2 separate regions of the Homo sapiens genome follow, and region 1 is linked to region 2. Evidence: promoter capture Hi-C in human tissues and cell types (Jung and others, 2019). All regions are on one chromosome and are shown on one strand. Each heading gives the region's core, a stretch centred on a gene start or on the middle of the fragment in contact. The rest is flanking DNA. Distances are from core to core; before and after follow the strand shown.

The links. The method cuts DNA at HindIII sites, captures the fragments that hold promoters and counts their contacts. A contact is called where the count stands out against the background at its distance.
Region 1: a contact is called between the fragment with the promoter of LDB1 here and the fragment with the promoter of PITX3 in region 2, in 2 of the 25 tissues and cell types used here (IMR-90 fibroblasts and ovary).

What each region holds. Positions count from the first base shown.
Region 1 is chr10:102,117,503-102,124,735 of GRCh38, reverse strand. It overlaps LDB1 (LIM domain binding 1), which reads left to right and starts at 4,368. Exons shown (of 11, transcript NM_001113407.3): 1 at 4,368-4,650. The coding sequence starts at 4,626. It also overlaps a transcript of PPRC1 not described here. RefSeq lists enhancers at 2,229-2,978, 2,979-3,730, 3,731-4,482, 6,188-6,889, 6,890-7,233 and silencers at 3,979-4,108, 4,129-4,428, 4,489-4,568, 4,659-4,728, 7,062-7,233. The HindIII fragment of the contact is 10,982 bases long and covers 1-7,233 here.
Region 2 is chr10:102,235,954-102,243,004 of GRCh38, reverse strand. It overlaps PITX3 (paired like homeodomain 3), which reads left to right and starts at 1,493. Exons shown (of 4, transcript NM_005029.4): 1 at 1,493-1,672. It also overlaps a transcript of GBF1 not described here. RefSeq lists a silencer at 1,342-1,631. The HindIII fragment of the contact is 21,724 bases long and covers 1-7,051 here.

The DNA.
Region 1 (7,233 bases), core at 3,119-5,618, 120 kb after region 2:
AGAAGTTTGAGGCTGCAGTTACCTATGACCATATCACTGCACTCCAGCCTGGGTGACAGAGCAAGATTCTGTCTCAAAAAAAAAAAAAAAAAAATGGCCAGGCACAGTGGCTCACGCCTGTAATCCCAACACTTTGGGAGGCCGAGGCGGGTGAATCACTTGGAGGCCAACATGGTGAAACCCCATCTCTACTAAAAATACAAAATTAGCCAAGTGTGGTGGTGCGCGCCTGTAATCCCAGCTACTCCGGAGGCTGAGGCAAGAGAATCACTTCAACCCGGGAGGCGGAGGTTAAAGTGAGCTGAGATTGCACCACTGCACTCCAGCCTGGGCAACAGAGTGAGACTGTCTCAACAAGAAAGAAAAGAAAGAAGGCCGGGCGCGGTGGCTCACATCTGTAATCCCAGCACTTTGGGAGGCCAAGGCAGGCAGATCACAAGGTCAGGAGTTCGAGACCAGCCTGACTAACATGGCGAAACCCCATCTCTACTAAAAATACAAAAATTAGCCAGGTGTGGTGGTGGTGCCTGTAATCCTAGCTACTCAGGAGACTGAGGCAGGAGAATCGCTTGAACCTGGGAGGCGGCGGTTGCAGTGAACTGAGATCGTGCCACTGCAATCCAGTCTGGGCGACAAGAGCGAGACTCTGTCTAAAAAAAAAAAAGAATAAAGTTTAAAAATAAAAAGCTAGAATGCCTCTGAATTGATCATTTAAAAATGGTTAATTTTTAGCCAGGCATGGTGGTGCATGCCTATAATCCCAGGTACTCAGCAGGCTGAGGCAGGAGAATCACTTGAAACCGGGAGGCAGAGGTTGCAGTGAGCTGAAATTGCGCCATTGCACTCCAGCCTGGGCAACAAGAGCGAAACTCCATCTCAAAAAAAAAAAAAAAAAAAAAAAAGGCCGGGCGTGGTGGCTCACGCCTATAATCCCAGCATTTTGGGAGGCCAAGGTGGGCGGATCACCTGAGGTTGGGAGATCCAGACCAGCCTGACCAACATGGAGAAACCCTGTCTCTACTAAAAAAAATACAAAAATTAGCCAGGCGTGGTGGCAGGTGCCTGTAATCCCAGCTACTCAGGAGGCTGAGGCGTAGGGAGAATTGCTTGAACTGGAGAGGTGGAGGTTGCAGTGAGCTGAGATTGCACCACTGCACTCCAGCTTGGGCGACAGCGCAAGACTCCGTCTAAAAAAAAAAGGTTAATTTTATGTTATGTGAATTTTACCACACACATACAGAGGGAGAGAGAGAGAATACTGGGCACTTACACCCATCCATACAAATCAGCTAAGCCTCCAGTCCTCCAGGACATTGTCATTAAGTTAAAGACCCCCCCTCCACATAGACTCCACCCCCTTCCTACCACATCCCTTCTGTCTGCCAGGTGTCTGTGACCTCTCTTCCCATTTTTGCCTATACCACAATTCCCAGAGATGCTCCAAAGATGTTCTCTTCTCCCTCCCCAGGTCTGATCCACACTAGAAGTAAGGCAAGGAGTGGAGCAATGGGTCAAGTGCTTGTTAGCTCTGTTACCTTGGCAAAGTTAACTAACTTGCCTAAATGGAGTTCCTGTAGGAGCCCCAATCACTTATTTTAACCACCCATTCAACAGTACTGAGATGGTATTTCCTTACCGGTAACTGGGCTATAGTGTCAGTGGGAGTGGGAAGGGTAATCTTCCCAGAGAAGGTGAAGCTAGAACTAAGGTGTTAAGGAAGCATTAACTAGTAGGTGAAGAAGAGGGAGAACAGTGTTTTACAGGCAAGTTCAAATTTATTATCATCTCTGAACTTCAGTTTTCCTACTTGTTCAATGGAGGTAATAGCACCTTCTTCCAAAGGTCCTCATGAAAGGTAAATGAGTCGGCAAGTGTAAAAGGCCTAGGGCAGTGCCTGGCATTAGTGCATGCTCAAGTAAGGCAGTTTTTTCTTCCTTCCTAAGCTTCTACCTTCCACATGTGTAATCTAGGAGAGGGAAATCTCAGATTCACAGGAGGCAAAGACCTTTATAGGGTGGGTTGTAGTCCCCCTGTCCACCCAGATGATCACCATTGTGTTGGTCAGCATGGAATCTGACCAAGCTAGTTGTTTGGAATGAGTGGCCTTAGGCGTAAGTGGTCACAGGATTGGAGGAAGGCAAATTCATGGACAGAAAAGAGAGAAGGAGGTCAAGGTAGGTATTCCCCCTCCTCCAAACCATCTCAAATTGTCCTGCCAATCCAGCCCCCTCCTCTCTTGGAATTGGATAATCTTAAAAAAAAAAAAAAAAAAAGGGCAGAAAGAACACGTATTTACAGGACTGCCTGGCTGACACTGGGCTACGTGACTGGGTGTACATTGTCTAGTTTGATACTCACCAAGCCATAGGTTACAGAGGATAAAGCTAGTGTCCCAGGTGGGGTGGTCAGTTGTCTCAAATCACTCAGGTATTGAGGAGCGAATCTTGCGTTCAAACCTAGGTATCCACAATTTCGGGCCAGTGTTCTGTTGCCTTATGTTCTCTCTACTCCCTCTAGTGCTGACCTTTGTCTGGGAGAATGCAGGGAGGGGGTGCACTCAGGCAGGGGATGCTGCCAAGGAAATACTTGTGTGAGTGTGGATGGCTTCAGTCAGGTCCTCTCTGCTCCTGGTGGGGGTGGAGATGGGGAAACCTGGGGGTGGGAGACTCCACAGTGTACAAGCTCCCCTATCCCCCATCCTAAGCACATGGTGGGGAGGGTCTCCATTCCTAGGCAGGCCTTCTTTTCAATCCCTGGACTCTGCACCGTTCCATCATTTCATGCTCCCTCAGCAAAAACCTAAGGTGGAGAGAAGAGGTCTCATAAACACTTTAAGCCTCCGCATTTGTAACCCTCCCCCAGCCAGTCAAGCCAGCTGTGCAGACTCTGAGCCAGAGTGAGGGAACCAAACAGCCTTCTCAACCAACACCCCTCTAAGTAACAAAGAGGAGAACCCCCTACCCAGTCAGGGCCAGACGCCCTAGGGAGGAGACACTAGTCCAAGTCTCCATCGTCTATCCCTGGAGCCCATACTGAAACTTAAGAAAGAAAAGCTAGCAGCTGGGGACCCCAGGAGGGAGGGGGTCAACTCTCTACTCCAGGCGGCTCCCCTCCCTTCCCTCCTCCTGGCTAATAGGTATTTCCTGTTTATGAGGCAGCTAAAGCTGAGCTTTTGGGAAGGGATGGAGATGGAGCCCCTCCCCTCCTAGGGCTGGGTTGGGGAGTCCTTGAAGTGTGACTGAAGGTTGGGAGGCTCCTCCCAGGGGAAGGAGTGTTCCTTACATTGACCATCCACATCATCTCCCATCCAACCCCCCACGGCCCACAGCCTCTGCCTCTCTGGGTTAGGGGGCACTGGAGGGGCCTGTTTCCTGTTCTCATCTCCGAAGCCCTCAAAGGACAGCAGCTTCCAGGCAGGGGGGTCGGAGGCGGTGGGGTTGGGCGGTTGGTACGGAGGTGAAGGCACCAAGGCTGGAGAAAGGGGGGAAGGGAAGAGAGTGTCTTGACTGATGCGTCAGTCTGCAAGAAGGAAGGATGGCCTCCTATCGCCCCTCCGTAATCCAATCTGGTGGTCATTCCGCAGCCCCCTCCCCCCAGCAAAACACAGATCCCAAGCCCTTAGGCGGAGGAGGGCGGGGACCCCACTTAATTAACCCTTTTAGTTCTAGTCCCAACTGGTTTCGCAGGCAAAGGAGGAGTGGTTAATTTAGGGAAGGGGTGAGTTGAGGGGTTGCTACAAGAATTAAGAGAATGCTTCTTTACCCATCCAGCCTAGGGTAGGGACGCGAAACAAGGGGCCTCCAGAAGAAGGCTGGCGTCTCAGCAGGGAGCACGGACAGGGGGTCTGCAGTCCCTTTTCCCTCCCGGAGCGCGGCCCGGGGTGGAGAGAGATACACCACACTGCCCACCCCGGCTCCGCCTCCCCCAGCCGCGGCTCCCGCTCCGGCTCAGCCAGACTCCCCATCCGGCGGCACCCGGAGGACGGACACCGAGCGCGCGGCTGCGCCTCCAAGCCCTCCCCTTCGCCCTCCCTCTCTGGGGTCTCTGCCTCCGTCTCCTTTTTTAAAAGCTGCGTCACATGCATGCCGTTCCCCGAGCGCTCCCAGCCCCTCGCCGCCCGCCCGCCGCGCGGCGCACGCACGTCGTCGCTTGCTGCGCGCTCTCCCGGGTCACTTTGACACGGCTCTCCCCTCCCACTAGCAGGACAATTAGCATATTAATAAAGCCCGGCCCTGCCCGGCTTGGGCTGGGGAGCCGGCGCCGGCGCGAGGGAGCGCGAGCGCGAGGGCGGAGAGGGGGGCGCTCGGCGACGGCGGCGGGAGCGCACAGACACGCACACGCACACGCGCACACACGCACACACGGACACACACTCCGCGGACTCACACCCGCGCGCACACACGCAGAGGCCGCTCGCCTTCCTGCCTGGCTTCCTTCCTGTCTGCTCCGCGCCTGACAGGCCCCTCGCCGCAGCCAGGGGCCGCCCGCACCGGGCCGAGGCCGGGCCGGGCCGGCGGCGAGCGCAGCGGGGGCCGCGGGCGGCGGCGGCGGCTCATGCCCGGCCTGTCCCCGCGAGGGGCGGGCACCGTGACTCGGCTGGGCCCCCAGAGGCGGGCGATGTGAAGATGTCAGTGGGCTGTGCCTGTCCTGGTGAGTGGGGCGTGCGGCCACTCGGCCCCTTCCTGCCCAGCCGTCCCTGCGGACCCCTCACCCCGTGTTTGGCGAGAACTTGTGTGGGGGGCGTCGATGGCATGGGGGAAGCCGGGGGCTGGAAGGGCTACGCGGGGCCTCAGGCTGGCGGGTAGCGTTTTCCCCAACTGTGTAAATGCGCAGCAGCCCAGAAACACGGGGAGGAGACGCTGGGGGTGGCTTATGTGTATGTTTTTTTGGGGGTAGGCTAATTGGGGAGAGGTTTGGGGGGGGCTGAAATTCTCAGAATTCCAGGTTGTTAGCCAATCAGAAGTGACTCTGGACTTTTGACCCCCCCCCTCAGGTCACCATAGAGTTGTGATTGGCTGGTTTGGGCTGCCCCCCCTTCCCTGCTGCCCATTGCCTCTTACCTATCCTGTGACATCCCCCCCATGCTGTTTCTGAGGACCCTGTTTGCAGGGAGGTATTGATTGCGGCCCATCTTGCCCCCCACCTTCAACTTTTCCTGCCTGTTGCCAGGGAAGGTTGGCCCTCCTGAGGCACCGGAGGTACTCCTAAGAGGTGCCAGATAATTGGACCCTTGGGTCTGGCATCTCCGCCCTAGTGGGAGGGCAGGCTAGGAAATAGAGTGATTTGTGGAGAGGTAAGCTGGGGGAGCAATACTTGACCCAAAACTGAGAACTTGAGAGAGGACCCAGGCTCAGATCCCTGCCTCCCCAAAACATATCAGCTCTTGCCAGGGATAGCCTAGGTCTGAGTTTTTTTCCTGGGGGGCAGGTGGGGGGGGCGGAGGGCGTCTACCTCACTGCCAGGAGGAAAGAGAGAAGCCATGCGACTGGAGAGGTAGTCTACAGAGGGCCTCACGGCACACTGTCTGTCTCCATCCCCGGGACTCTGGGTCCTGGAATTGGCCCTCCTGCCCCAGACTGGAGTCAGCTTTCTCCTGGAAGTCAGTGTCCCTGAATGTAGCCCGCTTTGGCTACATACTTCACAGCTGGACACCCACCACTCCCCCACAAATCCCCAAGGGAAGCTGCCAGTGCGGAAGCTTCCTTGAAAATCATGTGACCCAGGCCAAGCTGGGCTGGGCACACACTTCAGGTGCCTGCTGAGGCTGATGTCTAAGGGGCATGGGTCCCAGAAGGAGGAATAAGAGAACCTAACAATCCTAGAATATCCGAGTATGGGAACCACTGGCTCCTGCTGCAGAGGGTTGGGGAGAGGAGAGGGAAGAGCTTGCCAAGCTGGAATCCTGTCTGGCCCCGTCGTCCCTCTTTCTACCAGCTTGGTGTACATGTTTATGTTGTGGATTTTCTCCTTTATAATTGACCCATGCTGGGTACCCCTTTCAGATCCATCATGTTCTTAGCCCACCCCAGGGCCCTGACCCTCCATCAACACACATGAGCAGAGCAGTTAAACTAAGGATCTGAACAAGCTAGAGGGATGAGTCTTAAATTGTGATTCTTAGTTCCTACAAATAGTGGGTAAGCGGGTATGTATGTATGGAGGGGTTGTCAGGCTGGAGGTGGATGGGAGGTTGGCCCTGAAGTTGGGGCAGGGTGCCTGGGTCCAGTGGGAGGAGAGAGAAAATCTCTTCTTCTTAGTCTCTGGGAGCAGCATGGGAACAGGAAGAGGGCCCAAGCCCAGGGGTTTGTGGGTGGGTGGGAAGACAACTTCAGTCAATGCCCCAGAAGGCATGTTCCTTTTGTGTCTGGTGGTCTGACTGAGGGAGAGAGGGCAAAAGATAGGGAAGAGTGGGGAGTCTTTTTCCAGATCATGAAGAAGTCTTATAGATTGATGCCAAAGAGGGTGGATGGAGGTTAGACTTCAAGGAGAACCACATGGGGAGGGCTTCAGAGTAGACTGGAGGTGGGGAATAGTAGCAGTTGAGGTTAGAGAGGGGACCTGGCTTGCAGCTTGCTTGGATGGGGGAGCACATGCTTGAACACAAGGAAGGCATGGCAGCATGTAGCAGTCCAGGCCCAAAGATTTCCCCCACCTTGAGCAGCCCTGGGGTGAGGGCTGAGGCGCCCTGGCAGGCCGCCTGCCGCCTGCCTGCCTGCCTGTCTGAGTCTCTCCTTTGTGTTCTGCTGTCTCCGGGCTCCTCCTCCTCCCCCAGCCCGGCAGAGACAGCACATGCCCCACACATGTGACTGAGGGAAGCCAGAGCGCACACAGACCCACACACATGCACACGCAGAAGCACCACAAGATACACACATACACATGCCCAACACCCATATTGCTCCTGGGGTGAGGACCAGCTTCTGGGGCTGGAATGGCTGGGAGCAGGGAGAGCCTCTGACTAAGGGGCATCACCCTGAGCAAGAGGCTGAGGGGGCCAGGGCCTGTCTGGGGCAGCATGTGGCTCAGAAGGGTTAAGGCAGGGAGGAGTAGGGGGAGGGGAGGAGGCAGCAGTGGTGGCGGCTGGGAGCCAGGAGAGGAGGATGGCAGAGCGCCAGGCCAACGGGAGGCCGGGCACAGACAAAGGAAGGGGGGCAGGCACACTGGAGGCCTGGGTCAGGGAGCCCCAGGGGCCCGGGCAGGGGGCAGTGCTGGTACCTCATCCTGTGGGCTGGG
Region 2 (7,051 bases), core at 244-2,743:
CAAGACATGACTGCTCAGATTTGCCTTAGGGGCATATTGTGTGACTGGGCTTAGGCTCTTTTTTTTTTTTTTTTTTGAGACAGAGTCTTGCTCTGTCGCCCAGTCTGGAGTGCAGTGGCGCGATCTCAGCTCACTGCAAGCTCTGCCTCCTGGGTTCACGCCATTCTTCTTCCTCAGCCTCCCCAGTAGCTGAGACTACAGGCACCCGCCACCAAGCCCGGCTAATTTTTTGTATTTTTTAGTAGAGATGGGGTTTCACCGTGTTAGCCAGGGTGGTCTCAATCTCCTGACCTTGTGATCCGCCCGCCTCGGCCTCCCAAAGTGCTGGGATTACAGGCATGAGCCACAGTGTTTGGCCTGGGCTTAGGCTCTTCGGAGCACCCAAGCAACATAGCCTAACTGGGAGAAGAGAAGGAGCCTGTTTCCTGGAAATTGAGGCCTAAGTCAGAGAGGGCCGAAGTCACAGTCTGCCAGGATGTTCCTTGGTCATCTGTCCTGTCCCTTGCAAATTCCTAACCAGCAGGCACCAAGGCCACACCTTGCCCACAGGACTTAACCTGGTACCACCAGCGGGAAACCAGCCCTGCTGAAGGAGGGAGAGCACAGCCTAAGCAAGACAAGGGTACAGACTGAAAGGCAATGCCTTTGGAGTGCCCAGCCCAAGCCCTGAGATCCAGCAGGAACCTCCTCTTAATTGTTTTGCGCGGGGAGGGAGATGATAGTTACTCGTCCAAGTTCACTCAGTGATGGTGCAGTTCGTGGCAGCGTTGGAATACTACTTTGGTTTGTATCATTCCAAACCCTGCTGTCTCCACGAAGTCACCTTCCTTGGAGAAGAAGGGGGAAATGAAGAAGAGGAAAGATATGAGGAAAGAGGAGCAGAGAGAAAGAGAAATGAGTCTTTTAAAGTGGCAGAGGAAGGAGAATGGTAAACAGCAGGAGCGAAGCGGCTGAGGAGAAAGAAGAGGAAAGAAAGGCGAGACGTGGGAGGATTGGAACAGAGACAAAAGGGAGGAGAGACGGACAGCGACAAGTGGAGAAAATCGGCGAAACTTGAGTGGCAGAGAAGTCTGAGCGCTGAGACCCGGCGGCCCCGTGCGCCTTCCCACCTGGCGCCGATCCACTTTCCTCGGGGTAGCGGCCCAACCCACTTCGCTGCCAGCCGATCCCTTTTACCCGTGGCTACCGGGACCACTCTACTCTCGCCCACTTGGCTCTGCCTAAGCGTCCTAGCCGGAGCGCGGTCTCTGCCACGTGGGGAGGGGCGCGGCCGAGTTGCTGAAGAGCGCTTCTGATTGGCCAGAGGGCGGGGTTCTTGGCGTCTCGCCGGCCAGACCCCTCCCTCAAAGGCGGGGCCTGGAGATCCACAGCTGGAAAGGGCGGAGCCCCAGCAGGGCAGCTGGAAAGGGGCGGGGCCTGACGCGCGCGGCTCGCCGCGGCGGGCTGGGGGCGCCCTGGTCTGCCATAAAGTGAATGGGCGCCGGCTGGGGGTGGCAGTACGCGGTGAGGCTCACTCCCTCCGAGAGTCCAGGAGCGCCCGAGCGGAGAGGCGGCCCGGGAGCAGGGGGGCGGCCCCCACTCCGGCCGGGTGCCCGGCCCCTGGCCCCTGCCTGCCCTCTAGATCGCCGCCGCAGCCGCCGCTACTGGGAGTCTGCCTGTTGCAGGACGCACTGTGAGTGTTTGACCATTCTAAGGACAGGGGCTCATGGGGCCGAGGAGCTATTGCTGGACCTTGGAATCCCTAAAACGAGACCTGGGGCAGCTGAACTCCGGTGCCTTGGGAACAGGTCGAGAATGGGAGGGCGGACTGCAGACCTGGGGCCAGGACTTGGGAAAAGGGAAACTCAGGGTAAGAACCAGGGGATAGGGAAGGGGGAGACTCAGAGGATCCGGAACGAAGCCGGAGACTTGAAACCAGGATAGGGGCTTCGCGAGGCAGGGAGTAGGGAGTCTGGAAACCATTACCAGAAAGCGCCCTGGAATCCCAGGGCACGGGGCAGGCGGCCAGGGAGCGAAAGGGGTTACAGAGGCCCTGGCCAGCGGGGGAGCTGGCGGGGCGGCCCCCAGTGTGGGGGCAGTTGACGGCGCCCGATGCCCCTCGGCCTAGGCTCAGACTCCTGGGGCTGGGAGCCGGGGTGCGCCTGGTCGCACACGCTTCTCTTCCCAGCTGCTCCGCAGTTGGAATAGGAGCTGTGTTGTGAGAGCCCGGCCGCGACTGAGTCAGATGGCCGCTGTGCGGATCAGAGTGACCAGGCGGCGGGTATAGTGGATCTGGCTTGGGGTGTCTGGGCCCAGAAGGGTCCTGACTTGAGGCCGCCTCAGAATCGGACAGAATGTCCGCGGTGCATGGGGCTCGGAGCGGACAGAATGTCCGGGTAGCGAAGTGGGTCTCTCCGGAGCGGGAGTTGTGTCTGGCAGTGGCGGACAGAATGTCCCTGGCTGGGTGGCATGTCCGTCTACCCAGCAGCGCCTGCCCAGCTGCTGCGTGTGCGATGGGGTCGGCTGCGGTGGGTCACCTCAAATCCCAGCTCACACTTTGCAAACTTGTTTCAGCTCCTTCGGGCTGCGAAGCTGTGAGCAGGGAGCGAGAGTAAAGGCTACAACCTGGCCTTGGGGTGAGGTGGGCTGGGACACATGCCCCCTTCAATTCAGAATAGATCAGAGCATCACTCTGTACTTCCAGAATCCAAATTTGAGGACAGAAGGCCAATGAGGAGCCTGCTAGTGGGAATCAAGACCAGGAAAGGAAGGAATAGGTGACAAAAGGCAATGGGAAAACAGGAAGGAGCTGGGTACAAGCCCCTGGCAGCCTCAGTTGCCCCCTAATTCCAATACAATTAACCAGACACCCCCCAGACTCCTTGCTGGAGTATCAGGCGACCAATGGCTCCTTCCCTACAGTGGGCAGGAGCCCAGGCCAGAAGAGAAAACTACAGCCCCATTAGCAAAGCAAATCCTGTGGTCCTGTTTCCCTTTTTCTTCCTCAGCCCTACCAGTCCCAACACCACCCTGGTGGCTGAGCGGAGGTGGGAAGGAGGCTCATGGAATCCAGACTCTGGAGTCCAACAGGGGGCTATCTGGCCCTCTCAGTCTGGTTGGGAAGGATATCTTGGCCCTACCTAACAGCCGGGTTTACTTTCCCTGCAGCTGGGATACAGCCCTGACTCTGCTGGGCCCATACAGTGACCATCCACCCTGACCCCAATTCTAACCACAGCTCAATTATGCTGAAGAGGACAGAACAGGGAGAACGAGTCCATATAAGTGAGCAAGATAGCCCAGCTGGGGACTGAGTTTTCACAAGGACAAGTGCAAGGCATTGTATTTAGCAATGAGTAATCTAAACAGTGGTTTCAACCTTTCTTACCCTTCACCTGTGAGTGACATACAATACGTATTCCCCATACTCCCATGTCCATTCCTCAGTTCTAAAGTTTGCTTATTACTGGCTAGGATTCTCAACTTTTGTTTTTCATTTGCCCTATTTTGATCAATATAAAGACACACCACAATTATCCCCATCACATTCTGATACACTTTTCAGGGGCTTGTGCTCCCATTGCTGTGCTCCCATAAAATCACTGAAATTATAGGTGAAATGAAGGACTCTGTGTCAGGAAAGGAACAGGGAAAGCATTACAGATGGTTCCCTGAAGACTTTAGCTCAAAGTTGGCTTTTGCCAAAAAGGCCAAAGAGGTGGTATCATAATGAAGGTGATTGGAAACAAAAGACAGAACCTTTTCCCACCCTTGCATAAAGCCTTGTAACTGAACGCATGCCTGGTCACTGGCTCTTAGGAAGAATGTCATGGGCCTAGAGTAGGGTCAGAGAATGATTGGCAGAATGGGGAGCCAGGGGTTGCTGGTGAGGGCAAATTTCAAAGTTTAGTCCTCTGGAAGGTGAGACAGGATGGAAATCTACAGCATAATAAAAGACCTAGATATGCAGAAGAATTGCTTGCTCCCCAAATCTTGAAACTGGAGATGAGGGGGCCTTTTAGAACTGGAGTGATGCAAGCTCAGGATGAATAGAAAAATGTTCTTTGGCACACAGTGGGCAGCATACTTCCAGAGCTCATTTCCAGAGAGATGATAGAGGCAGGAAGTAGAAATGGAATCCTTCAGGGTTTGGAAGGATCAGCACATGTCAGAGTCACAAATGGCTACAGGGTGGAGGGAGTGAGGCATGGAAAGAGCAGAACTAGATGGTTTGAATCTCTTCAAATCTCTTCAAACTGTGTAACCTTGCATCCTGCCTTCTTAGAGGTGTAATGGGGATAGGCACTCCAGCCATGCAGGGCAGTTGTGCGAGTTAAATGAAATTATGTCTGTGAAGGCCCTCTGCAAATGGAGGAGCATCATATAAATAAGAAGCACTGCTATTATTATGCCCAAGCTGCAGAATCTTTGTTTGGAAAAGTGGGGCTGAGACTTAGAGCAGCCTAATCTCATCCCTGATGCAGCCATAGGAGGGATCTTAATGACAGACGGGCCACCCTATCGTGGACTTCAGATGCTGGCCACTACCCCTGCCGCTGTCTGAGAACTCTGGGGAGCTCCCCAAATGCTCAGCCTGTCTACCAGGCCAAATATCTCTGCCTGCCTCCTGCTCAGGGATGGGAACATTGGCCCAGGACTCAGGTTCAGGACGGGAGGGCAAACGCAGCAGGCTAGAGCTGACTTGTGGTGACTGAAGGATGGGGCCAGTAGAATCTTTTCTTCTCCATTCACACTAAATGATGCCTCCTAGACTAACCTGAAGGATCCATTAGGTCCTGAGCTTTGGGGTGTCTAGGGTGTCCATGGCCACTGCCAGGGACTCATGAAAAGAATGATGGGGAGGAAAAGGAAAAGATCATCAGTGGGGTAAGAGTTGGGGGAAGACAGAGAGGAATAACTTTCAAAACTCTATCTCTCCTTTCCCATTGTCCTGCCCCGGGGCCTTTTTTACACCTTTCAGTTAATAGTTTCTCCTTTCCTATTTCTTCCCTGCCCAACCCTTTATGCTCACCATGGTCAAATAAAGGTCACAAAGATGCTGTTTTTTGTCACACCCCTGGATACAAGCCTCCAGTGACCCCTACTGCTTGGTGCATTGCTTCTCATAGTGGGGTGGGCGGGGGAGGAGGGCAGTACGGGAGTGGAGGAGGCATGACACACAGTCTAAACAGGGCCCATCTTCCTGGTGTGGTGATATCACTTGAAGATTGGGGGGTTTTATATTAAAAAAAGCTTTATTTTTATATTAAAATATTTTATAATCCATGACTAAAGTATGGAATAGAACGAAAAATTTGTTTGCATTTTTAACATAAAGCTGGTGACCTCAAAACAATTTCATACTAGTGGCAGCTGTTTCAGGTCATGCTTCTGTTTTCTAGTAGATGTTGTTTTTGACTGGTCTTAGGGTTTTTTTCTTTATTCAGGGCTGTTGCTCAGTGTGAATCTTAGCGGTTTTTGATGAAAAAGCTGGACATACTGTAGCCTAGACTTTGTCAAATCTGAACCACTGCCCCTTGTCCCCCATTGGAGGCCCCCTCGGTTTGACTCGTTTCTCTCTGCAGATCTCCCGTGGCCTACACTGAGACTCTGACTAACCTAGGCTCACCACTGCCCTCCCAGCCTGCCAGCTTATTCCCAACACTGCTGATTATTTAGAATGCCATACCCCTTCTCTTCCTCTTGAACTCCCAATTCAGTCACGTGCCTATATTCTCTGAGCTCCCAACACTCGGTACCACCTTCCATGGGCTTCCCTCTCTCTGATCTCCCACAGTCTGGGAGTCAGACCCATGCGGTCCATCTTTCCATCCTGTGCTCTGTTTGCCTCCCTACACTGCAGACTCCTACAAGATAGGGTCTCTGCCTTACTGTTCTTGGGATCCCTCTTAACACCTAATACTTGCTGAAGGAAGGAAGCAAGGAAGAGCAGGAAGACTGTGGAGTCATTTCTCTGATCCCCGAATCGTCCCTTAATAACTTGAGTGCTTCAAATCTTTGCTGCAAATGTGTCTCGATTTGCTCCCATTTGCACACTGCAGTTCAGCAAACCATAGAGTCTGGGTGCTCAGCGTCCCTAATGAACATGCAGCCATGTCCACTTAAGGACCTCACTTCAGTTTCATGTTTATAAGATGAAAACATCACAACTCCAGCTCCTCTCATCTCTCCATTTAGCCCCTGAATGAGAAAGGTTTTCTCCTATTTGAGTTCCAGGTTATGCCTCCAGCCTCAGGCATTATTATTGCAACCGATTGTGGGCTCTCACTATGTCCCTGGTCTACCTCTCTGGCTTCAGGACTTAAGTGGGTCCACATGACAGCTGACTTATTGCCATGGGGTTGTGTCTCTTGGAAACCATGGCCTCCCCACTGTGGCCTCCCTGGCCTGGGATCTGCTCTCCACCTTCATATGTCCTGGATATTTCATTCTTGCTGCAGTCCATGACCAGGCTTCCTGTAATTCCAGCCTGTACTACAGAATCAGAGCATACCTGTAGGCCCTCTGTACTCCCTGGGCCTGGGATTGCCACCCTGATACCAGTGGGACTGGGCCACACATCCCTCACATCCCTAGCAGGGTGTGGCAAAAAGTCTAGGGGTGGGGCCGGCAGCCCCCTTCCAGAGCTGGACTCACCATCACTGTTATCTTCTGACTCTCTCTGTCCCTGCCTGGGCATTTCTTACTAGCATCAACCAATCCTGCGGCTTCCAGACCTACTGCTTGTTCTTCCCTATCCACTGAGTGAGGCGAAGTCCCTGGCCTCAGTCCCAACTCCCTAGCTTCCTGACCTCCAGCAGTTTGGGGGAGCTTAATCTTCAGCCAGCCTGTCTCCAGCTCAGACAACAGCTTGGCGCCCCCAGCCTTTGCCTGACCAGCCCACCCGGACGTGAGTCGGCTAGAGGTCTATGCCCCCACCCTTCCATCTCTCTATTGCCTGCCTGGCTTTACTGTTCTTTCCTTCTCTCTTCAGTTTCACGGTCAGGTCCCTTCTCAGCTGTGGCTCCTCTCTCTGCTGTTACTAGCCCATGCAAGAGCCTAAAGGCTTCAT